Regions from separate parts of the Homo sapiens genome. Here region 2 is linked to region 1. The links are contacts of gene promoters, found by promoter capture Hi-C in blood cells and fetal thymus (Javierre and others, 2016). All regions are on one chromosome and are shown on one strand. The core of a region is centred on a gene start or on the middle of the fragment in contact, and the rest is flanking DNA. Distances in the headings are between cores, read along the strand shown. Region 1 holds the start of MEI1 (meiotic double-stranded break formation protein 1). Region 2 overlaps NDUFA6-DT (NDUFA6 divergent transcript).

Region 1 (3,591 bases), core at 285-2,784:
ACCCGGGAGGCGGAGGTTGCGGTGAGCTGAGATTGCGCCATTGCACTCCAGCCTGGGCAACAAGAGTGAAACTCCATCTCAAAAAAAAAAAAAAAAAGAAAGAAAGAAATCAAAATATTTGAGAACGCAGCCAGGCACGGTGGCTCACAGATGCAATCCCAACACTTTGGACTTTGGGAGGTCAAGGCAGGAGAATTGCTTGAGACTAGGAGTTCAAGACCAGCCTGGGCAACACAGGGAGACCCCCGGGACCGTTTCTACAAAAAAAAAAAAAAAAAAAAAAAAAATTGAGAACTGCTGATCTAGCCAATCCACCCACTCACGAATTCCCCTCCCATGAATTGGAGAGAAACTTGACCTCCCAAAGTCTTCTTGGATGCCTCCATGGACAAGAAAACTCACTGCAGGTCGGGCACCGTGGCTCACGCCTATAATCCCAGCACTATGGGAAGCCGAGGCGGGTGGATCACCTGAGGTCAAGAGTTCGAGACCAGCCTGGCCAACATGATGAAACTCCGTCTCTACTAAAAATAGAGAAATTAGCCGAGCGTGGTGGCGGGAGCCTGTAATCCCAGCTACTGGGTAGGTTGAGGCAGGAGAATCGCTTGAACCCAGGAAACAGAGGTTGCAGTGAGCGGAGATGGCGCCATTGCACTCCGGCCTGGGTGTCAGAGCGAGACTCCGTCTCGAAACAAACAAAACCACTTCATTGCAAACGCGGTAGGCAATGAGGACCCAGGCAGCCCGCTTTGGCCAGCTCTGCCCAAGGAACAGTCTTCCCGTTCACCCCCACTTCTGCCCGGCTGTAACCTGTCACTCCTGTCCCCTCGGAGCCCAGACTGCCCCTCCTCCGATTCACACCCCGACAGCTGAAGGGAATGAGGAGCGGCCGCCGCATGCGCCCCTGGCCCGCAGGTGAGTGGAGGCTGAAATGGCGGGAGGCTGAAATGGCGGGAGCCTGAGCTAAGGCCGAATCCCCGGGAAATGGAGGCAGGGGCAGCAAAGGGAAGGAGCCAGAAGGCGGAAGGCGGGAAGGTGTGTCCCTGAGACTGGGTGAGGTCCCGGGGGATCCGGATTTCCGTCCTTTCAGGCGCAGAGCCAGTGGACCGGGCTCCACGGAGGCCCGCAGGCCGGCCTGGGGCTGAGGGGCCCGAGAGGCCGCTGCGGCCGGGTCCGGGACGGGCTGACAGGGAGGAGAGTGAACACAGCGCGGGGGCCCGGTTTCGCGTCGGGTTCACCGGAGCGGGTCTGGCAAGGGCCTGGCCGCGTTTGCTGAGGGAAATGGCCAAACCCAGGTCTTCTGAAGAAAAGGTTCCGCCCGCACCGACACGCCGGGGTCCGGCAGCAGCTCCAGCGCGCAGGCCAGGCACAGGCGGGGGGTCACGGGCAGCAGCCAGCGCGGGTCGTGCCGGTAATGGGCCCTCTCGAATAGAAGCGCCGCCTCTTCCTCTCTCCTGGGCCCGGGAGTGCCCGCCGTCGCCGCCTGCCTCACAGCCATCTCCTCGCTTGCCCTCAGCTGAGGCGGCACTCTTTCCCGCGCAGACTGCACGCATGCGCACTTGGAGGACGGACCTGCGTCGGTGTGGAATGCGCCTGCGCGGACCCAGGGCGCTGCAGTCTCAGACGAGCAGCAGCCACTGAGGGCAAGTGGTGGACGCAAGTGCTCTGGATCGTGTCTAGCTAAGCCAAAAGCGGTTTGTGCTTAGAACCCTGCAGGAATGTCTTTACCACATCCAAAGTTGAAAAGCAATTATAAAGTAGGGGGCATTTGCCTTGAAAAAGGAAGGAAAGGAAGCTATTTCTACTGTTTTTTAAAAATGAAGGCCGGGCATGGTGGCTCACGCCTGTAATCCCAGCACTTTGGGAAGCCGAGGTGGGCGGATCACGAGATCTGGAGATCAAGACCATCTTACCCAACATGGTGAAACCCCGTCTCTACTAAAATACAAAAAATTAGCTGGGTGTGGTGGCAAGTGCCTGTAATCCCAGCTACTTGGGAGGCTTGAGGCAGGGGAATCACTTGAACCTGGGAGGCGGAGGTTGCAGTGAGCTGAGATTGTGCCACTGCACTCCAGCCTGGCGACAGAGCAAGACTCTATCTCAAAAAAAAAAAAAAAAAGGAAAATAAGCGATCCCAAGGATTCGCATCTAAAAGCAATTAGAGGCTGGGTGAGTTGGCTCATGCCTGTAATCACAGCACTTTGGGAGGGAGGCTGAGGCAGGAGAATCACTTGAACCTGGGAGGTGGAGGTTGCAGTGAGCCAAGATCGCACCACTGCACTCCAGCCTGGGTGACAGAGGAAGACTCCATCTTAAAAATAAATAAATAAATCAGAAGCTTAAGACCAAAAAATAAAAGTAAAAAAACAAAACAAAACACCAAAGACAGAGAGAAAGAAGTTCAAGACCAGCCTGAGCAACAGGGCGAAACCCCTCCTCTACTAAAAATACAAAAATTAGCTGGGTGTGGTGGCTCATGACTGTAATCCCAGCTACTCGGGAGGCTGAGGCAGCAGAATCGCTTGAACCCAGGAGGCGGAGGTTACAGTGAGCGGAGATCAAGCCACTGAACTCCAGCTTGGGCCACAGACCTACACTCCATCTCAAAAAAAAAAAAAAAAGCGTCCCATGCAGAGGACCACCCCTCCCCATAAGCAGCTGAGGCTTTTGGAGTGTCCTGCCTCAATCAGGATTAGCTTGGAGACAGAGCAGGATAGAACCTCAGTGGACTCCACTGTGAGGAGCTGGGGGGCAGGTGTTTCGGAGAGGACACTGGGTTGACCCACATTCCCTAAACCACAACCACAGAGTGGAAGGGGCTTCTACCCCACCCACAAAGTATCCCAAACCCCGAAAGGGGGCACTTGGAAAATGTGCCAGAGAAATCAGAACACCACAGGGCCCAAATGACCAATTTATTAGAGGCTTTGCAGGGATCAGGACACTCTCAAAGCTTTTCTGATATGTCCTGAGGACTCTGGGCCTGAGTCTACTTTTTAAAGCCATTCTGGAAGAGAAAAAAATTCAGATGCTTCATAATACTAAACTTTTTGGAGGCTCGTGTATTCTGTGGAGCCCCATTTGGGTTCCCAGGTGCCTCCTGGCCCTGGGGACTCTCTGTCTTAGGAAGGGTGGCCCCAGTACAGCAGTGACCTTGCAGCTGAAGATCCCTCTGTGAAGCAGTGTGATCTCCGATGCTGTCCTCCCCTGCACGAGGATCACCCACTTTGGGAGGCAGAGTAGAATCAGGTTCCCTCAGGCTCAGGTTAGGGGCCAAGTGCTTGCGCTTGGCGAGCTGTGGGGACCAGGACATCTTGGCCAGAAGGGTCAGGCCCAGCTTTGCCACCGCAGAGTGGAGCCTCCCTTTGAAGCTGACAGGTTCTGCAGAATGGCAGGAAGGCTGCTGCCCAGCCCCTCTGCACCCTGTAGATTCCAGGCTTCCTCTTCTCCAGTATGTGAGCTGCTGGCATTTGAGTCTGGGGAGCTTAGAGGCCTCCCAGGATGTACATTCCTTCCTCCAGTGGGCGTGGTCTGCCCTAGAGAATGAAGTCCTCACTCTGCTGGGAGCCCTCTCTGCCAGCTGGGAGACCC
Region 2 (3,591 bases), core at 332-2,831, 420 kb before region 1:
CTGGGATTACAGGCATGAGCCACTGCACCCGGCCCCAGCTGACCCTTTCTTTAACGACCTCGCCTTTTCTCTTGGCTGCTTGACCTCTCATGCTCTGGTTTTCCTCCTGCCTCCCACTCCTCTCTCTCTCTATCTCTCAGTCTCTATCTCTGTCTCTCTTTCTGTCTCTGCCTCTCTCAGTCTCTATTTCTGTCTCTGCCTCTCTCAGTCTCTATTTCTGTCTCTGCCTCTCTCTGTGTATCTCTATCTGTCTCTCTCTCTGTATCTCTGTCTCTCTCTGTATCTCTAGCTCTGTCTCTATCTCTGTCTCTGTCTCTGTCTATCTCTCTGTATCTCTAACTCTGTCTCTGTATCTGTTTCTGTCTCTCTATCTCTCTTTGTCTCTCTGTCTCTCTCTGCCTAAATCTCAGTGTCAAGTGTTGCTCCATGTCCTGCTGACGACAAAGACTCTGAACTTCCACCTCAGACACTCACTTCTAGGCCTTTGCATGTGCTGTTATCTACCTAGAATGTGTTTCTCCATGGCTTTCAGGAGGGCTCCCCTGACTACCTGAGTTCACGTGGGGTGGCCCTCCTCAGTGCTCTTAGGGTACTGTACTGTCCCCTGACTGAGGGACCACTTTAGGTCCGTCCACTGTCAAACCCCCAGTAGCTGCCCCTATGCGTGGGACACAGCAAGAGCTAAGTAACCAAATGAATGATTACATGGCTGTGGTTCATCCTAGTGCTTAAAGCCATGATCAGAGTTGAAAAGTTGCTGTATCTTATTCAGATTTCTACTAGCAACATATTCAATAGTAAGCTTTGTTAGTCATCTATAACCCGGTGTAAGTGAAGTTATCAGGTCTTTTTCTGGGAGGAGGTTTAGAGGAGGAAAGGAGAGAGAATGAGTCCTAAAGGAGAGAAGAGGAGTAGAAGGGGCATGTCAAGTAGAAAAGGATGTAGAAAAGGTAGGCTTGGGGTAAAAAGATAATTTTCACCTGCTTGGGTGGTTTATTGAGGGCAGCCTTTTAGGCCTGCTTACCAAAGAGGCCAGTCTTGATGACGCTAGAAATTTGCAGATAATCCTTTTACCATATCAGTGTCAGGCAGCTTATCCACCTCCTCTTGGGCTCTATGACCAAACCCAAGAAGAGCACTGAGGCCCAGCTAAGTCTGGGAGTTCAGTGCACAGGCCCCCCCTTTCGCACAGAGAGTGGTGTCTATGTGTGACATCGTGTCTTAGGGGGGCTTTATGACAGGACAACCTCTTCAACCTTGGCCAGAACAGCTTGTCAAATGCCTCGGGGTGGCTTTAAATCCCCAGTAGTGAGAGACAGCCCCTTTGTACATATCTCATTGTTTCAATTCAGCACAAACAGTGCTGACTGAGCAGCTACAATGTGCCAAGCTCTGTGTGAAGACCCATAGAGACACAAAGATGCAAAAGTGTGTAAGACTCAGTATTTTTTTTTTGTCTTTAAGACTGAGTCTTGATCTGTTGCCCAGGCTGGAGTGCAGTGGCATGATCATGGCTCACTGCAACCTCCACCTCTCAGGTTCAAGAGATTCTCATGCCTCAGGCTACCGAGTGGCTGGGATTACAGGTGTGCATCACCATGCCCAGCTAATTTTTTTGTATTTTTAGTAAAGACAGGGTCTTGTCATGTTGGCCAGGCTGGTCTCAAACTCCTGGCGTCAAGTGATCCACCCGCCTCGGCCTCCCAAAGTATTGAGATTACAGGCGTAAGCCACTGCACCCAGCCAAGACTCAGTCTTACTGCATAACACAATAAGCATATTTTCTAAATCCAAAACAAGAACACAGCCTAACAATTGAATGTCATCTATTCATTCATTCAACCAGTGTCTGCTGAGCTTCCATTTTGGTCCAAGCATTATGCTGAGAGGATCAAAGGTAAACAGGACATACAGCCTACCCTTGAGGAGCTCAAAGACTTCAAACAGACATTTTATGGTTCAAGACAATAACTTCTACCTTCCTGCAAATTTCTGTAAATGTAACAATAATTACAAATCTATGGGTGGTTGAAACTGAGGGATGGATGCCTCAGTTTCACATACACATGAAACATTCACCAAGATAGGCCATATTCTGGACCACGAAACAAATCTCAATGGATTTTAAATTTATTTCAAGTATGTCCTTCAAACACTGTGGAATTAAAAATTACAAATCAGTAACAGATTCCCAGAAAGAGTCTGAGCTCAGACTCACCTAACCCTGCCCCAACCTGACAGTATTTCTCTACCCGCCCTGGTAGCTGATCACAAAAGCCATAAACTCTTGGGAGCTTTATGGCCCTGTCCATCACCTGAGAAATCCTAATACTTATCCTGGCCAACTTAGGGCAAGCTTATATCCCCCTTCCAGTATTGCAGCTGGTGTTCTCTTGAAAGCGCCACCTCCTGGCTGGAGGCCAACCAAGTCAGGACATTACAGCAACTCACAACAGAATAACCCTGCTCCAAGAAATGAGAAACAGCTAATTCCACTGCTTTCAACATCCTGGCTAACCAGAGCTCCTGAGTCTGTCCACGTGACAACTTCACTGCTAGCATAACCAGCATTTGAGAAAGCCAGCACAGTAAACAAAACTACAAGCAAGGACTCTCACACTCACAGTCTACTTTACTCCCCTCCCACCTCCACCAGGGCAGGTGCTGGTGTCCATGGCCAGGAGAGCTAAAGACGGATCACATCACAGGACTCTTTGCAGACATTCCTCAGCACCAGCCTGGAACCTGGTAGCCCCACTGGGTGGCTGGACCCAGAAGAGCAATAGCAATCACTACAGTCTGGCTCTCACGAAGCTCCATCCCTAGGGGAAGTGAGAATGCATCACATCAAGGGGTCACTTTGTGGGACAAAAGAATCTGAACAGTAGCCCCTGAGTTCCAGATTTTTCCCCTGAAATAGTCTACCCAAGTGAGAAGAAATCAGAAAAATTGTAATATGACAAAACAAGGTTCTATAACACCTCCAAAAGACCATACTGGCTCCCCAGCAATGAATGCAAATCAAGAAGAAATCTCTGAATTGCCAGATAAACAATTCAGATGGTTGATTATTAAACTACTCAAGGAGAGACCAGAGAAAAGTGAAAACAAAGAAATGTAAAAAACAATACAGGCTATGGATTGGCCAGGCGCAGTGGCTCACACCTGTAAACCCAGCACTTTGGAAGGCTGAGGCGGGCTGATCACTTGAGGTCAGGAGTTTCAGACCAGCCTGGCCAACACAGTGAAACCCCATCTCTACTAAAAATACAAAAATCAGCCAGGCATGGTGGTGCGTGCCTGTAATACCAGCTATTTGGGAGACTGAGGCAGGGGGATTGCGTGAACCCAGGAGCCAGAGGTTGCAGTGAGCTGAGATTGCACCACTGCACTGTGAGCAACAGAGTGCTCAGAGTCTCAAAAAGGAAAGAAAGAAAGAAAGAAAAAGACAACAAAAAAAATACAGGCTATGGATGAAAAATTCTCCAGAGAAACAGATATTATAAAGAAAAAAAAATCACAATTTCTGCAAATGGAAGACACACTTAAAGAAATAAAAAATGCACTGGAAAGTGTCAACAACAGACTAGA

Evidence for each region. The method cuts DNA at HindIII sites, captures the fragments that hold promoters and counts their contacts. A CHiCAGO score of 5 or more calls a contact.
Region 2: a contact is called between a fragment that was not itself captured here and the fragment with the promoter of MEI1 in region 1, in 2 of 17 cell types (erythroblasts and endothelial precursors). The highest score is 5.6, in erythroblasts.

The regions. Positions count from the first base shown.
Region 1 is chr22:41,697,446-41,701,036 of GRCh38, reverse strand. MEI1 (meiotic double-stranded break formation protein 1) reads right to left here and starts at 1,534. Exons shown (of 31, transcript NM_152513.4): 1 at 1,325-1,534. The coding sequence starts at 1,498. It also overlaps the pseudogene C22orf46P. RefSeq lists a silencer at 1,462-1,561. The HindIII fragment of the contact is 5,602 bases long and covers 1-2,340 here.
Region 2 is chr22:42,115,926-42,119,516 of GRCh38, reverse strand. All of the region lies in intron 3 of NDUFA6-DT (NDUFA6 divergent transcript), which reads right to left. Among named protein-coding and RNA genes, the nearest start is that of CYP2D6, 13 kb to the left of the region's middle. The HindIII fragment of the contact is 1,554 bases long and covers 805-2,358 here.